2 separate regions of the Homo sapiens genome follow, and region 2 is linked to region 1. Evidence: promoter capture Hi-C in human tissues and cell types (Jung and others, 2019). All regions are on one chromosome and are shown on one strand. Each heading gives the region's core, a stretch centred on a gene start or on the middle of the fragment in contact. The rest is flanking DNA. Distances are from core to core; before and after follow the strand shown. Region 1 holds the start of CTNNBIP1 (catenin beta interacting protein 1). Region 2 overlaps UBE4B (ubiquitination factor E4B).

Evidence for each region. Contacts are between HindIII fragments. The study calls those that stand out against the background at their distance.
Region 2: a contact is called between a fragment that was not itself captured here and the fragment with the promoter of CTNNBIP1 in region 1, in 1 of the 25 tissues and cell types used here (aorta).

Annotation. Positions count from the first base shown.
Region 1 is chr1:9,908,232-9,913,970 of GRCh38, forward strand. CTNNBIP1 (catenin beta interacting protein 1) reads right to left here and starts at 2,038. Exons shown (of 6, transcript NM_020248.3): 1 at 1,864-2,038. RefSeq lists silencers at 1,586-1,645, 1,816-1,875, 1,886-2,485 and enhancers at 2,633-3,306, 3,307-3,979. The HindIII fragment of the contact is 11,728 bases long and covers 1-5,739 here.
Region 2 is chr1:10,166,089-10,171,426 of GRCh38, forward strand. It overlaps UBE4B (ubiquitination factor E4B), which reads left to right. Exons shown (of 28, transcript NM_001105562.3): 24 at 2,048-2,182; 25 at 5,050-5,241. Among named protein-coding and RNA genes, the nearest start is that of KIF1B, 42 kb to the right of the region's middle. RefSeq lists an enhancer at 4,456-4,505. The HindIII fragment of the contact is 8,579 bases long and covers 1-5,338 here.

The sequences.
Region 1 (5,739 bases), core at 788-3,287:
TATTTTTAGTAGAGACAGGGTTTCACCATGTTGGTCAGGATGGTCTCGAACTCCTGACCTCGTGATCTGCCCGCCTTGGCCTCCCAAAGTGCTGGGATTACAGGCATGAACCACTGAGTCCGCCCTGATCCACAGATTCTTTTTTTTTTTTTTTTTTTTTGAGACGGAGTCTCGCTCTGTCGCCCAGACTGGAGTGCAGTGGCGTGACCTCGGCTCACTGCAAGTTCCACCTCCCGGGTTCACGCCATTCTCCTGCCTCAGCCTCTCCGAGTAGCTGGGACTACAGGTGCCCACCACCACGCCCAGCTAATTTTTTGTATTTGTAGTAGATATGGGGTTTCACCGTGGTCTCGATCTCCTAACCTCGTGATCCGCCCGCCTCGGCCTCCCAAAGTGCTGGGACTACAAGCGTGAGCCACCGCGCCCGGCCACAGATTCTTATATGTAATCTGGCCCCTCTCCATCTTCATAGCACTTACCACTACTGAAATTATTTTGTCCACTTGTTTGTTTACTCACTTATTGTCTGACTTTCCTCCTCTTTAAAATGTCATCTCTGAGGAGGGCAGAAACCGTGTCTGTCTTCACCACTAAAGCCCCAGTACTTGGAACGGTGCCTGGCACATAGTAAATGCTCACTACTGAATGAATGAATCTCCATCCCATAGAGGTGATTTGTATTTACAAGGGAGGACCACGAACTCCCCCAGCAAACCGTGAATGACACATTGGCATTTAACAGCCCGCACCTTTATTTATGATCCAAAGTCCTACTTTAAATCTGAGGAAGCTGCTGGTATCTCTGGACATTTTAATGGCACAAGAGATCAGTTATCACTTGGGGACACACTCCAGGAACTGGAGCCCAGTGGTTGTAGCAGGGAGCTAAGAGCCAAGGCTCCTGCGAACAGAACTTCAAGACAAACCATGACTTGCCTCCAGGTCCCTTACCCACACACCCTGTACCTCAATTTACCCAGCAGTTGGCCAGACATGTTCCTCTCAGTTCTGTGAGTGACAGGAGACAAAATAATTCACAGCTGGAGCATACTGAGATCCTCAGACAGGAGGTGGTGCAAGCCACACGTCTCATTATTCATAAAACTCTTGATTTGCGGCCAACACGGCCCCCGCCGCCTTCCCAGGGGCTAACCTGACAACAGGCACTGCTCAGACAAGTTCAGCTCACAAGGCAGAGGGAGGGATGGAGGGCCTAGCAGAGGCTGGGTGTCCAGACCTGAGTGTCTCGGTTACCAGGTTCCAAAAAAAGGAAGGTGGTTGGGGTGGGGTGATGAAAAGGAGGTGAGAGGTGCAGTTTGGGGCTCCAGGTGGTTAATTTTGCAGGTTCGTGCATACACGCCCGCCATCCAGGTGAGATATGTGCCCCCACCAGGTACCTTCCAGGAAGGCTCACCGGGGAGGGGTGGAATCGGGAGACGACAGTTCAATCAAACTACAGAGGGAGGAAGGGCGGCCCAGCGTTTAGTTTGGGGAAATATGGAGAGTAAGAGTCTCAGAGTGGGCGCAGGTGAGGGAAGAGGCAGGGGCCCAGAGGTCGGGAGGGCGGACGGGCGATGACAGGCACCCGGACGCGGTGAGGTGAGCAACAAGGTGGGCGGCGCGGACACCTGTGGAGGCGACCCCCGGGCGAAGAGTCAGGGAGGCGGGAGGTGGTCTGCGGCGAGAGGCGGCCAGGCCCAGACCAGGGCGCCGCGCCGCTGGGGCAGTCAGGGGTCCGAGCGGGGTCGGGGGCGCTCTCCGCGGCCCCTCCCCGGCAGACAAAGGGCTGGCCGCTCCCCCAAGCCCCGGCGCGGCGCGGCGCGGGCCCGGGCGGTGCAGGCGCGGCCCGGCCTCGGCGCTTACCTGGGCCGCCCGACCCGGCCGGGCCGGCAGGGGCAGCGGGTCCGGCGCGCAGCGCGCGGCGGCCTGTTCCGGGGCGTGCTCAGCCCGAGCAGCCGCTGCGGCGGCGGCAGTAGCAGCAGCAGGAGCGGCCGCCTCAGCCTCCGCCTCCCGCTCCGAGAGTCACCGCGGTGGGGAGGGAGGGAGGCGCCAGGCCGCCGGGGGAGGGACCGGCGGAGGGGGCGGCATCTGGCTCCGCGCGGGCTGCTGAGGCGCGGCGGCGGCAACGCCCCGGAGGGAGGCGGGCGCGTGGGGCCGGGCGCCGGGGCGGGGCCTGCGGGCGGGGCGGGGCCCGGGGCCGCGAATTGGTTAACTCAGCCTGTGGGCGGGGCTGCGCGGTGCGGGGCGGGGCCTTGTGGCGCATGTGAACGCTCATTGGGCCCTCCTGGAAGGGGGCGAGACCAGCGACATAGGGACGGGGCCATGCGGTGGGCGGGTGGAACACGGCGCCGGTAGTGAGTGGCCGAGTCCGCGCTGAGAGCAAAGGGGAGGAGCGGGCCGGGGGTGAGCAGGGAAGGCGGGTTGGGCGCGAGGAGGAGGCGGTGGCCTGGAGGAGGAGCCGGGTAAGGCTGAAGCTGGCGCTGCGGTAAAGCCACTCTGCGTGTCCCTATCTGCTCCAGGAGCACAGTGTTCCGGAAAAATAATGGCCTCTCCCACACACCGGTCTGTGTTTAAAAACGGGAGCAACAAGACGGGGCAGAATCCTTGGTGAGGCCAGTTTACCCAGAACCCCGGAAAATTCTGAAATGGACGAGGTTGCAGAACATTTAGAGGCGTGGTCTTCCTGCGTCGTTGAGCTGGGAACGTTGCTACCTCTGAGCTTGGGGCCTAACCTGGGATTAACCTAGCCCAGAGAGCCCAGGGATGGGCCTCCGTAGGTCCATTAAACTCAGAAGGTCGTGTGTACTGGTAGTGAGTGGATTTTTCGGGGGAAGGGTGCCCATGATTAAAATGTTTCTACAGAAAGTCTGGCTGTATTTGGAGAGGGTACAGGGAGAAGCAGCCCATTTTAGGTAAAATGCAAATTGCTTTTAACATCCGCCTTCCTTTTAAAGGGACCTGTATCTTTAAGTGTGGTCTCATTTTCAGCAGTTTAAATTATCAGTTACACAGTGTGACACTAACCCCAGTTCAGAAGCCCTCCTACCCTACTCCTCCCACAGCCTTTCTTTTTACACCTTTTCTGTACCATCCTCTTCCACTCCACATTTCTTCCCCTTCCCTATGCAAAAAGAATACGAAGTCCTTTTTTGTTTGTTCGTTTATAATATAATATCCACATTACTCTTTACTCATTTGGGGGGTTTTTTTGTTTTTGAGAGGGAGTCTCGCTCTGTCGCCCAGGCTCAGGTGCAGTGGCGCGATCTTGGCTCACCGCAACCTCCGCTTCCCGGGTTCAAGCGATTCTCCTGCCTCAGCCTCCTGAGTAGATGGGATTACCGGCATGCGCCCCGGCTAATTTTTGTATTTTTAGTAGAGACGGGTTTTCTCTATGTTGGCCAGGCTGGTCTCCAACTTCTGACCCCAAGTGGTCTGCCCGCCTCGGCCTCCCAAAATGCTAGGATTACAGGCCTGAGACACCGCACCCGGCCTGCTCACACTTTTTCATACTTAATAGGTCCCCGGCCGGGCGCAGTGGCTCATGCCTGTAATCTCAGCACTTTGGGAGGCCAAGGCAGACAGATCACCTGAGGTCGGGAGTTGGAGACCAGCCTGACCAACATGAAGAAACCCCGTCTCTACTAAAAATACAAAAATTAGCCGGGCGTGGTGGCGCATGCCTGTAATCCCAGCTACTCAGGAGACTGAGGCAGGAAAATCGCTTGAACCCGGGAGGCGAGGGTGCAGTGAGCCGAGATTGCGCCATTGCACTCCAGCCTGGGCAACAAGAGCGAAACTCTGTCTGAAAAAAAAAAAAAAAAAAAAATTGGTCCCCAAGTGGGTTTCTCCTACAGTGTCCCCACCTTCAGTAACTGGCACCACTCTCTACCCAGTTGCTTACACCAGACACTTAAATTGTACCGTTGACACCACTCTTTCCTTTATTCTTCATTTCCAGTCCATGTTGTTTCCAATTCTAAATGGTGTCCTTAATCTCTCCACCTCCTACCATCTCTACCCCTCTTTCCCAGTTTAACCTGCCACCAGCTATCACCTTGACTCCTGCAATAACCCTTCAAGCAGTCTCTCCTTTAGGCTCTCCTTACGCCCCCATTCACTGCCCACACAGCAACTAAAGGAAACTTCTTAAAATCTTGTCAGACCTGCGCTATTCAACGACTTCTCTTCATTTTCACGAGGAAGTTCAAAGTCCTTAGTGTGGCAACAAGGCCTTACAGGATCTGGCTACAGCCTGATCTTGAACCACTTTTGCCAACTGGGCTCTAGCCACATATGGGCCTTGTGCCTGTTCCTTGATCACAGGGAGCTCTTTTGTGCTTCAGGTCTTCTGATTGCGCTGTTCCCTTGGCCTCAATGGCTCTTTTCCGATTTCTCCCCACTTCACCTGCCTGAATACTTGGTCTACTTCCGGGAGACCTCTTAATGGATGCTAGCCCTAGTCCCACAGCATGGCTATAAACTCCAGGAGGGCAAGGACCATGCCACCAAGCACAATACCTGTATCCACAAATATTACTGCAGGAACAAACTGAATGTGTAAATACTCCATCCAGGACTTTCCCTTCCATCGGCCGGCCAGCCACTCCTACTCCCCGCCTCCGACCCCCAGGGCTATCAGCCTTCTCCTCCTTACTCTTCTCTCACTGCATTTATGGTTCGATATTTTCTCCTTTCAGCTCTGGAGAGGGCCTCCGTGTGGTCCCAGAACATATATTAGGTATCTTTTTTTTCTTTTTTTTGAGATGGGGTCTCAGTCTGTTGCCCAGGCTGGAGCACAGTGGTGCAATCTTGGCTCACTGAAACCTCCACCTCCTGGATTCAAGTGATTCTCCTGCTCAGCCTCCTGAGTAGCTGGGATTACAGGCACCCGCCACCATGCCCAGCTAATTTTTTGTATTTTTAGTAGAGACGGGGCTTCACCATGTTGGCCAGGCTGGTCTCGAACTCCTGACCTCAAGTGATCTGTTGGCCTCAGCCTCCCAAAGTGCTGGGACTACAGCTGTGAGCCACCATGCTGGCCTATTATGTATCTTTAAATAGTTGCTTTCTGGAGCAAAAAAAGAAAAAAAACACTATTTTTTTTCTCTTTTTTTTCTTTCTTTTTTTTGAGATGAAGTCTCATTGTCGCCCAGGCTAGACTGCAGTGGTGTGATCTTGGCTCACTGCAGCCTCCGCCTCCTGTGTTCAAGTGATTCTCCTGCCTCAGCCTTCCTAGTAGCTGGGATTACAGGCATGCGCCACCACGCCCAGCTAATTTTTGTATTTTTAGTAGAGACAGGGTTTCACCATATTGGCCAGGCTGGTGTCAAACTCCTGATCTCAAGTGATCCACCCGGTCTCAGCCTCCCAAAGTGCTGGGATTATAGGCGTGAGCCACCGTGCCCAGCCAAAAAACTGTTCTCTACAGCAAAGGATAACTATAAGAGTAAAATTTTCAGGCGAAGTATGAAATAACAGTGCAACCATAGCAGGCTGCAGGGAAGGATAACTGTTTTTTATTTATTTAGAGATGGGATCTCCCTCTGTCACCCAGGCTGGAGTGCAGTGGCATGGTCCTAGCTCACTGTACCTTAAACTCGCAGATTCAAGCAATTCTCCTGCCTCAGTCTCTGGAGCAACTAGGGCTACAGGCGTGTGCCACCATCCCCCAGTTAATTTTTTTTTTTTTTGAGACAAAGTCTTCCTCTGTCACCCAGGCTAGAGTGCAGTGGCATGATC
Region 2 (5,338 bases), core at 643-3,142, 260 kb after region 1:
TCTCCATCAAGCACAGACTGGAGCACTTTCCCAGAGGGCACTCACCGGCCAGCTTCAGCTCTGCCAGCTGTGTTCCTTTCCCAACAAGAAAAGGCCTCTGAACAGATGTAAGAATTGAGGCTTTTCCTGATGGGTCTGTGTTTGACCCATTTCAGAGCCTGCAGTGCAGTACCTGATTGTATCCATGAGTCAAACAGCTCTTATTATCTCCTCCCCAGCCCATGGCAGAGTTGAAGGAGGAAAGTGCGCCAGAGGTAAGCGTGCTGACAGTTCTGTGGTGTGACAGCCTCACAGTTTGGAAAGACAAAATTTTAAAAGCTTAGTAGTCCACAGGCACTTGTAGAGGCAGAGAGGCAGACCCGATAGGCCTCAATACGGTGGCACACTGCATCTCATAGTTTTAAAATAATGAAGACTGGCTGAGCACGGTGGCTTACACTTGTAATCCCAGCACTTTGGGAGGCCTAGGTGGGCAGATCAGTTGAGGTCAGGAGTTTGAGACCAGCCTGATCAACATAGTGAAACCCCATCTCTACTAAAAATACAAAAATTAGGCCAGGCGCATTGGCTCACGCCTGTAATCCCAGCTCTTTGGGAGGTTGAAGTGGATGGATCACCTGAGGTCAGGAGTTCAAGACCAGCCTGGCCAACATGGCGAAACCCCAATCTTTACCAAAAATACAAAAATTAGTCAAGCATGGTGGCACGCACGTGTAATCCCAGCTACTCAGGAGGCTGAGGCAGGAGAATGGCTCGAACCCGGGAGGCAGAGATTGCAGTGAGCCAAGATCGCGCCACTGCACTCCAGCCTGGGCAACAGAGTGAGACCCTGTCTCAAAAAAAATAAATAAATCACACACACACACACACACACACACACACAAAAAAAAAAAATTAGCTGGGCATGGTGGTCCACTCCTGTAATCCCAGCTACTTGGGAGGCTGAGACATGAGAATCACTTGAACCTGGGAGGCGGAGGTTACAGTGAGCCGAGATTGTGCCACTGCACTCTAGCCTGGGTGACAGAGGAAGACTCCATCTCAAAAAAAAATAACAATAATAATAGAGGGCCGGGCACGGTGGCTTACGCCTGTAATCCCAACACTTCGGGAGGCCAAGGCAGGCTGATCACCTGACGTCAGGAGTTCGAGACCAGCCTGACCAACATGGAGAAACCCCGTCTCTACTAAAAATACAGAATTAGCCGGGCATGGTGACACATGCCTGTAGTCCCAGCTACTCGGGATGCTGAGGCAGAAGAATCACTTGAACCTGGGAGGCGGAGGTTCCGGTGAGCCGAGATCGCGCCATTGCACTCCAGCCTGGGCAACAAGCGAAACTCCGTCTCAAAAAATAATAATAATAATAATAATAATAATAATAATGACTAAGTAAAAGTTATTATTAAGGGAAATAAACTACCCTTTCTTAGTGCCATGATGTGTGTCAGATACTATGTTCCATTATCTTATTTCATCCTGAATAGAAGTTGATGGTGACTTTTTTTTTTTTTTTTTTTTTTGAGACGGAGTCTCACTCTGTCACTAGGCTGGAGTACAGTGGCGCGATCTCAGCTCACTGCAGCCTCAGCCTTCTGGGTTCAAGCAGTTCTCCTGCCTCAGCCTCCCAAGTAGCTGGGACTACAGCCACGCACCACCACCCCCAGCTAATTTTTGTATTTTTAGTAGCGACGGGGTTTCACCATGTTGGCCAGGGTGGTCTCGATCTCGACCTCGTGATTCGCCCACCTTGGCTTCGCAAAGTGCTGGGATTACACGCGTGAGCCACCACGCCCGGCAGATGGTGACTTCTTTTATCATTGAGGAAGCAGAGTTAAATAAGGCACCAACATCACCTGGCTGGAAGTCTCAAAGAGCTCCGATGCTGAAAGGATGAAACTTCAGTTATCTGGGACATGTGGCAGGCGGTTCTGTCATTCCCTAAGCATGTTGGGTTTATCACGCACTTTCCAGTTATGTGCTTGGCGCTTTGCTGAGCTGATGACCAGGACCGAGCCTTACTCAGCGTCTGTTCGATGTGTCCTAGGATCAGCAGCAGGCTCGTCAGTCTCAGCTTGCTCAGGATGAGCGTGTGTCCCGCTCTTACCTCGCCCTGGCCACCGAAACCGTGGACATGTTCCACATCCTCACGAAGCAGGTCCAGAAGCCCTTCCTCAGACCGGTGAGTAGAAACCCGGGGCTCTGTTTGGTGGTTTGGACTCCACATTCAGACTCTCTCACTTATAACTTTAGCAGTTGTTGAAGTTCTGGAAATTTTAGGATCACAGTCATCAATAAGTGAAATTCTGTGACTGATTTTGTTCCCAGTTATGCTAATTGATACCAGACTCTGTTGATGGACTGAAGAGCAGATGTCTGATGTCACCACATAGTCTACAGCCACTTCCAAATGCCTTACTGCACTTTGTGCTTAGACAGTACATTGGATTATTCATGTTGATGTCATGACATATTTTTACCATTATTGATTCCTATATTTTACTTATAGAAAAAGCATAAGGTGCCGGGTGCGGTGGCTCACGCCTGTAATCCCAGCACTTTGGGAGCCCAAGGCGGGCAGATCACGAGGTCAGGAGATGGAGACCATCCTGGCTAACACAGTGAAACCCCATCTCTACTAAAAGTACAAAAAATTAGCTGGGCGTGGTGGTGGGCACCTGTAGTCCCAGCTACTCAGGAGGCTGAGGCAGGAGAATGGCGTGAACCCGGGAGGCAGAGCTGGCAGTGAGCCGAGATGGTGCCACTGCACTCCAGCCTGGGCGACAGAGTGAGACTCCATCTCAAAAAAAAAAAAAAAAGAAGAAGAAAAAGCATAAGGTAACAGCTGTTGACAATGGAAGGATATTAAGTAGAATAATTGAGACCGTGTAAAATCTTTGGCTCTCTTAGCTGTACCTTTGTTACACTCAGGAAGCCAAAGGTTAATGGGAGCCGGCCATCACTAGGGTTTATGGTGGATTGCAAATAGTCAGAATGTTTGTTCTCAACTAGTAAGACCTGGTTCCTATTTCTAAAATTGAAACTGAGCAGCATCACTGAAGATTTCTGCCCTGCTTCAGCCACCCCCACCACAAAGTTGAAAAGTTTTATGGTGTGGCCAGGACAAGGGTAGTGAGGAAGGCAAGACGGGGACCTAAGATTCGGTAGCCATTTGCCTATGTGGAGACATGTTTACTTTACAATGGAATATGACGTTACTGCATATTTCCCCTGATTTTCTGTATTTGCTCTTACCTTCGTTATGTGACTCTCTGTTATGTGACTCCTGTCATCAGCAGAGGCACTATTGCCACTCCCTGGCCTGGGGACAACTCTTTTCCACTCTTTTAACTTTCCACCTCATGTCTCTTCATAAACAGATTTCAGTGCAAGAGCCATGGAACACGAAACAAAACAGCTCAGACACTGGCCTCCCTTAAAAGTTTGCAAAGTGCAAGGCCATGGAGCATGAAACAAAACAGCTCACTGGCCAGACACTGGCCTCCCTTCAAGGTTTGCAGAATTCTGTGAAGGCCAGATAGTAAATAGTTGATTAATTCCTTTGTAACAAGGTCAACACCCACCTATTTTGTACACTTGTTGGGAAGACTAAGCGAAAACACACATAGAAGTACCTGGCATAAGGCCAAGCACGGTGGCTCATGCCTGTAATCCCAGCACTTTGAGAGGCCAAGAAGGGTGGATCACCTGAGGTCAGGAGTTCCAGACCAGCCTGGCCAACATGGCGAAACCCCGTCTCTACTAAAAATACAAAAATTAGCCAGGCGTGGTAGTGCATGCCTGTAATCCCAGCTACTTGGGAAGCTGTGGCAGGAGAATCACTTGAACCCAAAAGGCAGAGGTCGCAGTGAGCCGAGATCACGCCACTCCAACCTGGGTAACAGAGCAAGACTCTTCTCAAAAATAAATAAATAAATTTATTTTAAGGCCTGCTCATAGACCTGAGCCATCTGTACACTGTAGCCCTGTTCTTTTGGCCCCAGCCTGTGCCTGTGCCTGCTGTGATGTTTTCATTTCCTTTGCTACACTATTTACTATCTGGCCTTTGCAGACAAAGTGTAAAGGCATTTCATTTTGCAAACCTTTAAGGTTTGCATTTTCACCTTCTTTACTGACTAGCTCAGATCTCTCCTACTTCAAACAGAATGACCAACTCTGTCCTGTTATGACTCTTTTATTTCACAGCTTCTCAACAGTGAAATACAGGAGTACTCTGTGCAAAAGCAAATTCTTGAAAAGCTAAGTATATGTTGAATTTGTATAAATCCAGTTATTACATTTCATGAAAACCTTGTGACTTAAAGGAATGCTTTCGTGACTCCCTTTTATGGCCAGTGTTTAATGCTCTCTAAGCCACATCTTCCTGTTTCAGGTTTGCTTAAAACCATGTATGCCCAACCGTAGTGGGTACTGAGTCACCTTGTGAGATTACAGCATAGATTATTACTATTTTCCAGGTGTTTCATTTAAGTTTACTCTGTCTCATTGACTAGATTTAAAACTATTCAAGGCATAACTTTTATCTTCTTTCCTTGCATTACTTTGTTATTTGTATCTGATAAGTACATAAGAATGACACAGACTGAACTGCCAGGGGCTTTTAACATTTATGGGGAAAAAAGTTTATGAAATACTGGCTGGAAGAGCTGACTCAAAACTTTTTTTGCTCAGATAATGGTAAGATTTGTATAATTTTCTCTCTTTTACTTGTTTCTCAATGAATTTGGAGTGATACTTTTTTTAATTAAAAGCATAAATGTAAAGAAAAGTTTGGCTTCTTTTGGTATTTATAAATAAATATTTCATCAGCCTGCAACATTCCATTAAGTATTAGAATTATCAGATCAGAAATGGGGAGTAAAGTTGAAATATAATGTTGTCTTTCTTCAGCTTATGATACACAGCACCTGTAAGGATTCTTTGAAGATTAATCCAACCAATTCCTGTTCCTCCACTGAAATGGGAGTTTTTGGTCCTTTTCACTTGTCTCAACAGCATGAATTGTCCTATTATCCTGTGATTTCCTAGGAGCTTGGACCCCGATTGGCTGCAATGCTGAACTTTAATCTTCAGCAACTTTGTGGCCCCAAGTGCCGTGACCTGAAAGTTGAAAACCCTGAGAAATACGGCTTTGAACCAAAGAAGCTGTTGGACCAACTGACGGATATTTACTTACAGCTGGACTGTGCTCGGTTCGCGAAAGCCATTGCTGACGACCAGGTCAGTGAGTTGAGTTGGTCTCTCTGTGAGTTTACTGGCAGATTTGGAGATAATAACCACAGTGGCCAGGGAACTCGTCTGGTGTAAATGAAGATGA